Linked DNA regions of Homo sapiens: regions 1 and 3 are each linked to region 2. Evidence: promoter capture Hi-C in 16 types of primary human blood cells and fetal thymus (Javierre and others, 2016). All regions are on one chromosome and are shown on one strand. The core of a region is centred on a gene start or on the middle of the fragment in contact, and the rest is flanking DNA. Distances in the headings are between cores, read along the strand shown.

Evidence for each region. Contacts are between HindIII fragments. The CHiCAGO score rates a contact against its expected background, and 5 or more counts as called.
Region 1: a fragment that was not itself captured here is called in contact with the fragment with the promoter of APOO in region 2 in 1 of 17 cell types (activated CD4 T cells); the score reaches 5.8 in activated CD4 T cells.
Region 3: a fragment that was not itself captured here is called in contact with the fragment with the promoter of APOO in region 2 in 16 of 17 cell types (monocytes, M1 macrophages, non-activated CD4 T cells and 13 more); the score reaches 15.6 in monocytes.

Annotation. Positions count from the first base shown.
Region 1 is chrX:24,075,234-24,078,278 of GRCh38, reverse strand. It overlaps EIF2S3 (eukaryotic translation initiation factor 2 subunit gamma), which reads right to left. Exons shown (of 12, transcript NM_001415.4): 12 at 1-1,557. The coding sequence ends at 1,494. Among named protein-coding and RNA genes, the nearest start is that of EIF2S3, 22 kb to the right of the region's middle. The HindIII fragment of the contact is 2,776 bases long and covers 1-2,652 here.
Region 2 is chrX:23,906,438-23,909,392 of GRCh38, reverse strand. It overlaps APOO (apolipoprotein O), which reads left to right and starts at 1,455. Exons shown (of 9, transcript NM_024122.5): 1 at 1,455-1,699. The coding sequence starts at 1,691. It overlaps CXorf58 (chromosome X open reading frame 58), which reads right to left and starts at 1,387. Exons shown (of 9, transcript NM_152761.3): 1 at 1,064-1,387. RefSeq lists an enhancer at 1,496-1,705 and a silencer at 1,886-2,055. The HindIII fragment of the contact is 4,107 bases long and covers 1,225-2,955 here.
Region 3 is chrX:23,723,178-23,726,052 of GRCh38, reverse strand. All of the region lies in intron 6 of ACOT9 (acyl-CoA thioesterase 9), which reads left to right. Among named protein-coding and RNA genes, the nearest start is that of ACOT9, 19 kb to the left of the region's middle. The HindIII fragment of the contact is 5,864 bases long and covers 1-2,875 here.

The sequences.
Region 1 (3,045 bases), core at 15-2,514, 170 kb before region 2:
AGAGGCGGGCGGATCACCTGAGGTTAGGAGTTCAAGACCAGCCTGGGCAACATGGTGAAACCCCATCTCTACTAAAAATACAAAAATTAGCCGGGTATGGTGGCAAGTGCCTGTAATATCAGCTACATGGGAGGCTGAAGCACGAGAATCACTTGAATCAGGGAGGCAGAGGTTGCAGCGAGCCAAGATCGTGCCACTGTACTCTAGCCTAGGTGACGGAGTGAGCCTCCGTCTCAAAAAAAAAAAGGAAAAGCACACGAAGTATAGGGACATGGGGAATAAGTTAAAAATCAAAAGGACTCACTCATTGCTTTCTAACATCTTTTACTTCTTGACCTTTTGAAACATCCAAAAATTAGTAGTAGTATAATCTATGTCACAATCATAATATAACAGTTAAGAAAAAACATAAAATGAAGGCCTAAAAAGATCTTTGTTACTCATCTAGAATTATTTGGTATAACAGTATTTTCCCATGGAGGAAGACTTGGATTTCAGGCATTAAACAACGCAGAAAAAAATCTCAAGGCATCACAGGGAGAGGGAGATAACTTTTGACTCTGGTTTCCCGTGTTTCAGGCCAGGAAGAGCAAGGGGAGAAAAATATTTGTCCATGGGAACAAGTAATCATGCTCTAAAGGACAATTTCATTCGAATCCATTCATTTCCTTTTCATGCAAAATTTCAAAGATAAAGCAACATAAAATATGGGGCCACATAAAAGGGAGAAGGTCTTCAAGGAGAATTTGTGCCTTTAAGTTTTTACTGGTACAACAGTCTTTCAGCCTGGAGGTACTCAAAGACGAATCATGAAAAAGAAAAAAAACTTTATTTCAAACAGGTTCAGTGATATATGTGTGTGCTACAGCAAAGGCTGGTTGTGGCAAAGTTTCATTTCAAACTGTATGATGTGGGCTGGGCAAGGTGGCTCACGCCTGTAATCCCAGCACTTTGTGAGGCCGAGGTGGGCTGATCACCCTGAGGTCAGGAGAGACCGGCCTAGCCAACATGCTGAAACCCCGTCTCTACTAATAATACAAAAATTAGCCAAGTGTGGTGGCGCGCACCTGTAATCTCAGCTACTCGGGAGGCTGAGGCAGGAGAATCGCTTGAACCCGGGGGGCAGAGGTTGCAGATCACGCCACTGCACTCCAGCCTGGGTGACAGAGCCAGACTCAAAAACAAAACAAAATAAAACAAACAAAAAAACAGAACTGCATGATGTATAATTTTGACATTATGTGGGAATGTTTAACTTCTGCCAAAATGTAGATTCAATCCAACATTATGCCAATTTTTATATTAATTTTAGTCCCTAAGTTTTCATAACCAAAAAAAAAAAAAAAAAAAAAGAGAATAACCTTACCGTTACCTACTAAGGTAACGAACTGTGAAATCAATTCCCCAATATTGCTTTGAAAATAAACCCCTTGGTTGTTAAGAGGAATTCCAACTTCCAAATCCATCCGAATGTATTATTTAACTGGTATTCTTCAGTCATCATCTACTGTTGGCTTGATTGTCACTCCTCTTCTTATCTGACCCCAACCAATTAAACTGCAAAATGAAAATAAAAGAAATCATAAATCTTACATCCACTTCACTCTCATTACCACACAATCTTGTGATAAATTTTACCTGCTTATCTTCTGAATTCAAATTTGTTCCCAAAGCCTGCTCCTCCATAAAGAAAGCCCACACTATATTCTTAGATTCTTTTTTATTCTTGCTTTTGTGTGTTTTTTCTGAGACAGTCTCACTCTGTCACCCAGTCTGGAGTGCGGTGGTACGATCTCGGCTCACTGCAACCTCTGGCTCCTGGGTTCAAACAATTCTCATGCCTCAGCCTCCCGAGTAGCTGGGACTACAGGCATGCGCCACCATGCCCGGCTGATTTTTTGGTATTTTTAGTAGAGATGGGGTTTCACTATGTCGGCCAGGCTGGTTGCGAACTCCTGGCCTCAAGTGATCCGCCCACCTCGGCCTCACAAAGTGCTGGGCTTACAGGCATGAGCCACCGTGCCTGGACTGAAAGTTTATTGCTTAAATCTATTTCAAAATACACTGGAAGTCGTGTGTCTGTAATAGCAAAAAAATATAATCACAAAAGACAGTAAAATCAAAAGGGCATAAGTCACCACAAATAATTATTTACTTAAGAGACAACAAAAATTTAACTTTCTAAATTACAGGGCAATAATTCAGATAAATCTCCTGGACAAGTGATGAGACCATCGTGGGCACAGTAGCATGGAAGCCTTAATAAAGGAAACAGGGCTGGGCGGGGTGGCTCATGTCTGTAATCCCAACACTTTGAGAGGCTGAGGTGGGAGGATGGCTTGAGGCCAGGAGTTTGAGATCATGCTGGGCAACACAGTGAGACCAAGTGTCTACAAAAAACAAAAAAATTAGCTGATCACGGTGGTGTGAGCCAATAGTCCTAGCTACTTAGACACTGAGGCTGCAGTGAGCTATGATCATGCCACTAAACTCCAGCCTGGTCAACAGAGAGACCCTGCCTCTAAAAAATATAAAATAAATAATTAAGGAAGTAGATAGTGGGTAGGGGTGATGTGAATAATTATGGGGACAGTTAGGGCACAAAACAGTCTAATTTAGAGGGTTTATATAAGACAATGCAGAAGGAAAGCTTAAATGGGTTGAAGCAGGTTTCTAGAAAAGTCCCAAATATCAAAAAGTAGTGAGAAGACTCTAGAAATTATTAAACACAGCATGATGAAAATGTTTTAAGAAGACTAATTTTGACCAAGTTAAGAGGCAAACTAGGAGTCTTTCGCACTAACTGTGAAGTGTAAAGTGATGGTGGTATGGACTGTGATGAGGTGACGAGGAATGGAAAGCAAGGGGCAAACTCAATAACCTGGGAAAGAGCAAAAAGTCAGGAGCCAAAAATGTGTGTATGCTTCCTGGCTCTATGCTCTCAAAAGACCTAGAAGCAACAGCACCCTAAGAGCCATGAGCACACCTGAACACTCAGCTTTTCATTTATAAGAGAAATGGCCAGTTCTAAAACTGGAACAGAGA
Region 2 (2,955 bases), core at 206-2,705:
CAATGTAACATGAAAATATCTGTGCTTTCCATTGATGACAAAGTCATCAATGTTAATACTACTGTGGCTTGTTATCTACACTATAATTGAAAGAAACAAAGTTCAGTTAGAGGTTAGTGAAAATGAAGTTGTCATTTTTTCCCCCATACAAGTTCACATACCCCCTGAATTAAGAACTTCTGCCCTAATTTATCAATATGTTTCACATTTTTATGTATGTGTGACGTTACACTGCTGATGCAGAGAGCCTTCTGAGTCTATTCAGTATTTCTCCTTGGGGATGCCTTGGAATATACAATCCTCTTAAGAAAGAGAAAAGCAGCCCTTAACATCTGGGAGCTAAGCTGGGCTTAACTAACACCAAGGCTGGCAGTCACAGCTGGGCCTTGGTGTTACCACTGCTTCCTAACAACACCCGATCCAGAGCAAAGCTCCTGCTTCCTTGAACTCGCCCCAAAATCACCGAACCAAAGCCCAAATCCTATAATAAATCTAACTCTTTTACTGAAATATGTCACTGTGTTCCTACGTGTGCGTTCTCCTTGCAGCAATGAGAAACCCAATTTCTTCAACTACAGGTGTGCCCCTAGTGGTCTTTGGCTGGAGGGCAGTGGCACGTCACTGTACAAATTCTAAATTTTTCCAGATGCTCGCCTGGATGGGGCTTACACTTTTTATAGGATTAGGGCAGAAATACAGAATGAAATAGGAAATACATCCTCATTATGAGACAGTGCAACAATTGTTTTGGCTAGAACACAGGTTTCAAAGGCAGACTAATGGGTTTGGATCCTAGCTTCCCACTTCCTATGTGGTCTTGTACAAATTACTTCTACGTGCCTCAGTTTCTTCATCTATGTATTGGGAATAATAATCATGCCCACCTACTTCCGTTGTTGGAAAGATTAGATGAATGTGAATAAAGAACTTAGATCAGGGCTGCGCATATCAAAGTGCTGTATCAGTGCTTGTTTACTCTTGTTAATAAGATAATTATTGCCATTATCAGTTACTTCTACAAGTATTAAGGGACAAACATTTGATTTCCAGAGAGGAGGCTTACCGCTTGTTTCTTAACGGGAAAAAATAAGGTCAGAGCCTTTTCCGATTAAAGGACACAGCATATTAGTTTAAATTTAAAACCTGAGAAACCTCAAGTCCTTGGTTAAAACCTTTCGTAAGGTAAATCCAGGCCGCCAACCGGCGGCTTCCGGCTGCGAAGCTTTCGAAGCCGCCGGTGGCCCTCCAAGCGCCCCCTCTCGGCAGCCTCTGCTCACAGAAATCCCAGTACACGCCGCTGGGCGCCCAGTCGCCGCTGCAAAGACAGTTTCCCAGCGCCGCGGCAACGCCAGGCGCCTCCCTCCTCGCGCCTCCGCGTACCGTCCACACAGAGCCGGCGCTTTCTTGCCGCCTAGCAACCGCCGGCGCAGGGGCGGAGCCTCCTGGAGGGCGGGGTTTGCGTTCACCCGCTGCCCGGGCGCGACGCGCTGCGGCTCAGCGACGCGGCTTCTAGAACCGGGTGATTGAACTAAACCTTCGCCGCACCGAGTTTGCAGTACGGCCGTCACCCGCACCGCTGCCTGCTTGCGGTTGGAGAAATCAAGGCCCTACCGGGCCTCCGTAGTCACCTCTCTATAGTGGGCGTGGCCGAGGCCGGGGTGACCCTGCCGGAGCCTCCGCTGCCAGCGACATGTTCAAGGTGAGAGCGTGGAGTCGAGTCACAGCTGTCACCGCCCCCTCCCGGCCGCCCGAGCCCTCCCCGCGCTCTCTTGGGGCCTCTCTGCAGCCAGGCCTGGCTCACCCCGAGGCTTTTCCCGCCACTGGGCCGGCTGCGTCCCGGCCCCGCGGTTCATTCACTGGTCTACTGGGGATGAGCGGCTGCCGGGCGGAGGCGGGAGACCCCCGGGTGGGTGGGGGCGGCCCTTTGGGTTGTGCTTTCGTGAATTAAACACTTTGAAAATTTAAAGTGCCTTCCCCCAAAGTACCCATCCCCTCGGCTAGTACCCTCTTGGGATCGTGGGTAGGGTGAGGCCAGCTCAGGGCACTGTGGGGTTCGCGGCTTTAGTTGCCTGGCAGGGTCAGGTTTCAGAACCTGATGTGTGGATGGGGGAGGGTCATTTTAGGAGAAGCTGTGCAGGGTATGGGGGAGGCTGGGGTGGGATGGCTGGGTGACGAGGGAAGCTGGAGCTTTGCTCCACTCCTCAGGGAACATTATTTAATACGGGCCAGTGGACCCCCTTCCCTGCGTTTTGTGAACTCGTGTCCTTTGGAAAAAAATCGACTTTTACGATGAAGACTTAATTTCGAAAATCTGCACTTTAGCATAAAGCCATTATTCTACTTTTTAAAAAGTAAATTATATGTATTTTGTCATAAAAAATCACAGGCTACCAGAAATTAATCTACAAAATTGAGTCTTCAAGAAGCATAGTACCCATAAAATAGTGCTAATGAAATCTCAGAATTGTACTATTCATTTAAAAGTTTTATTGAGCTCTGCAATGTGCTTTGGGTACGTTAATAAAGGCTGTAAAATCAGAACATGCATTCTGCCTTCTAGTCCTGGCATTGCCACTTTCTAGCTGTGTGACCTTGGGCAAGTCACTGTGCCTATCTTCCTTTGGTGAAGTTGGGGTAATAACATCTACCTCATAGGGTTGTTATAAGGAGTAAGTTGGTATGTGTAAAGCACTTGGAAAAGGCCTAGTATTTGCTCTTACTCTGTTTTCAGGCAGCTCACAGTTTAGTCAGGAAGACAGATCCTATAATCAACATTCATTTGATAAATTTGTGTGTTAAACACCTGTTATGTGCTAGGAGCTCAGCTCCATTTCAGGGTTACAACAAGGAAAGATATGCTGTGGCCAGTTTAACTATATGTGTACCAACAGTGTAGTAAAGTAGTAAAAAGGAGAGCAGGATCCACTTGGCTTAACCAGGGGTTCCTAACCTGGG
Region 3 (2,875 bases), core at 58-2,557, 180 kb after region 2:
AATTTTTTGTATCTTTAGTAGAGACGGGGTTTCACCATGTTGGCCGGGCTGGTCTCGAACTTCTGACCTCAGGTGATCCACTCGCCTCGGCCTCCCAAAGTGCTGGGATTACAGACGTGAGCCACTGCGCCCGGCCTTTTGAATTTTATAATTTGTTCATATTAATTAAATTTTAAGGCATTTTAAAATTTAACAATAAAATTGTTAAATCTTTTAAAATTATTTATTTAGTTTTTGAGACAGGGTCTCACTCTGTCACCCAGGCTGGAGTGCAGTGGCGTGATCACAGCTCACTGTAGCCTTGACCTCCTGGCTCAAGCAGTCCTCCTGCCTTAGCCTCCTGAGTAGCTGGGACTACGGGTGCACACCACCATGCCCAGCTAATTTTTTTGATTTTTAGTAGAGACAAGGTCTGCCATGTTGCCCAGGCTGGTCCCAAACTGCTGGACTCAAGGGATCCCCCCACCTCGGCCTCCCAAAGTGTTGGGATTACAGGTGTGAGCCACTGCGCCCAGCCCTATTTTTTCAGTTGAGGTTAAAATATAAAATTTACCATCTTTATCTTTTTTTTTTTTTTTTTTTGAGACAGAGTCTCACTCTGTCACCTAGACTGGAGTGCAGTGGCACCATCTCGGCTCACTGTAACCTCTGCCTCTCGAGTTCGAGCAGTTCTCCTGCCTCAGCTTTCGACGTAGCTGGGATTACAGGCATCTACCACAACGCCCAGCTAATTTTTGTATCTTTAGTAGAGATGGGGTTTTGCCATGTTGGTCAGGCTGGTCTCAAACTCGTGACTTCAGGTGATCCCCCCACCTCGGCCTCCCAAAGTGCTGGGATTACAGGTGTGAGCCACCGCGCCTGGCTCATCTTTATCATTTTTAAGTGTACTGATCAGTGGTAAAAACTACATTTATATTACATTTTCCTCCGTCTCTTCTCTACCCTTCCCTTCTGCCCTTTTTTGGGTTGACGTTGCAGATTCTCTATAAACTCATCTACTCCCAGTGTTTCAGTTGCTATCAGTATGCTGAATACTTACAAAGCTACATTTTCTGGCCTGCTTTTCTGAGTTTCAATCAATTTTTCCTCTTAGCTACTAGATTTATTTTTCTTTTTTAGAGACAGTCTCACTCTGTTGCCCGGGCTGTAGTGCAGTGGTAAAATCATAGCCTACTGCAACCTTAAACTTGCGGGCTCAAGTGTTCCTTCTGCCTCAGCCTCCTGAGTAGCTGGGACTATAGGCACACTGCACCATGCCTGGCTAATTTGTTTTGTTTTTTTGGAATAGGGTCTTGCTCTGTCACCCAGGGTGGAGTCCAGTGGTGCGATCACCACTCACTGTATCCTCGACATCTCGGGCTCAAGCATCCTCCCATCTTAGCCTCTCAAGTAGCTGGGACCACAGGCACACGCCACCATGCCTGGCTAATTTTTGTATTTTACTGTAGAGACGGGATCTCACCATGTTGCCTGGGCTGGTCTGGAACTCCTGGGCTCAAGTGATCCATCTGCCTCTGTCTTCCAAAGTGCTGGGATTACAGGCTTGATCCACCATGCCTGGCCTAATTTTTAAAGTTTTTTGTAGAGACAGGGGTCTCACTCTGTTGCCCAGGCTAGTCTCAAGCTCTGGGCTCACGTGATCCTCCTGCTATGGCCTTGCAAAGCCCTAGGATTACAGGTGTGAACAACTGTGCCCTCCCCAATACCTTCATTTGGATGTGCCATAGGCTCTTCAAATTCAACGCATTGAAAATGGCCCATTCTTTTCTTCCTATATTCTCTTTTTATTTTGAGACAGAGTCTTACTCTGTTGTTCAGGCTGGAGTGTAGCGGCATGATCATGGCTAACTACAGTCTTGACCTCCTGGGTTCAAGCAATCCTCCTACCTATCTCCCGAGTAGCTGGGACTACAGGCATGTGCCACCACACCTGGCTAACTTTTGTGTTTTTGGTAGAGATGGAGTCTCTGCTGTGTTGCCTGGGCTGGTCTTGAACTCCTAGGCTCAAGTGATCTTCCTGCCTTCGCCTCTAAAAGTGTTGGGATTACAGGCATGAGCCACTGTGCCCAGTCTCTCTTCTCTTTTTCAGTGACTAGTACACCACGCTTACCTATGCAAGCTAGAAAACTGAATTTATTCAAGTCTTCTCAGGTTTACCTTCTTCTTAACTCATAGTCTTTTCATTTCTACTCCTGTTGCCATAGGTTGGAGCCATCTGATTTCTTTGCTGGACAAAGACTTTTAAATGGAGTTTATTGCCTTTAGCCTATCATTCCCCCAGTGTGTCCTTTAGCAGGTGCATAGATGGAAGGATTTACACTTACTCAACAAGTATTTATTGAGCCACATATCTTGTCTGAGAGTTTGTGATACAAATTTGAATGGATCATGGGGGAAGCAGGGAGCCAATCAACATATAATCATACAACTTTTTTTTTTTTTTTTTTTTTTTTGAGACAGTCTTGCTCTGTTGCCAGGCTGGAGTGCAGTGGTACGATCTCGGCTCACTGCAACCTCTGCCTCCTGGGTTCAATTGATTCTCCTGCCTCAGCCTCCTGAGTAACTGGGACGCCACCACGCCCGGCTAATTTTTGTATTTTTAGTAGACATGGGGTTTCACCATGTCAGCCAGGATGGTCTCGATCTCTCGACCTCGTGATCCGCCTGCCTTGGCCTCCCAAAGTGCTGGGATTACAGGCTGAGCCGCCGCGCCCGGCCCAACGTATAATTATACGACTTTAAATGAGTTGATATCTGTAAGGTGCATGAACCATGCATGGCACATATAAATGCTTGTTAAAATATGGAAAGTATACAGATAACCACAGGGTGGTATAGGAGTCAAGGGTGTTATGGGGAAGGAGGGATAACTGAG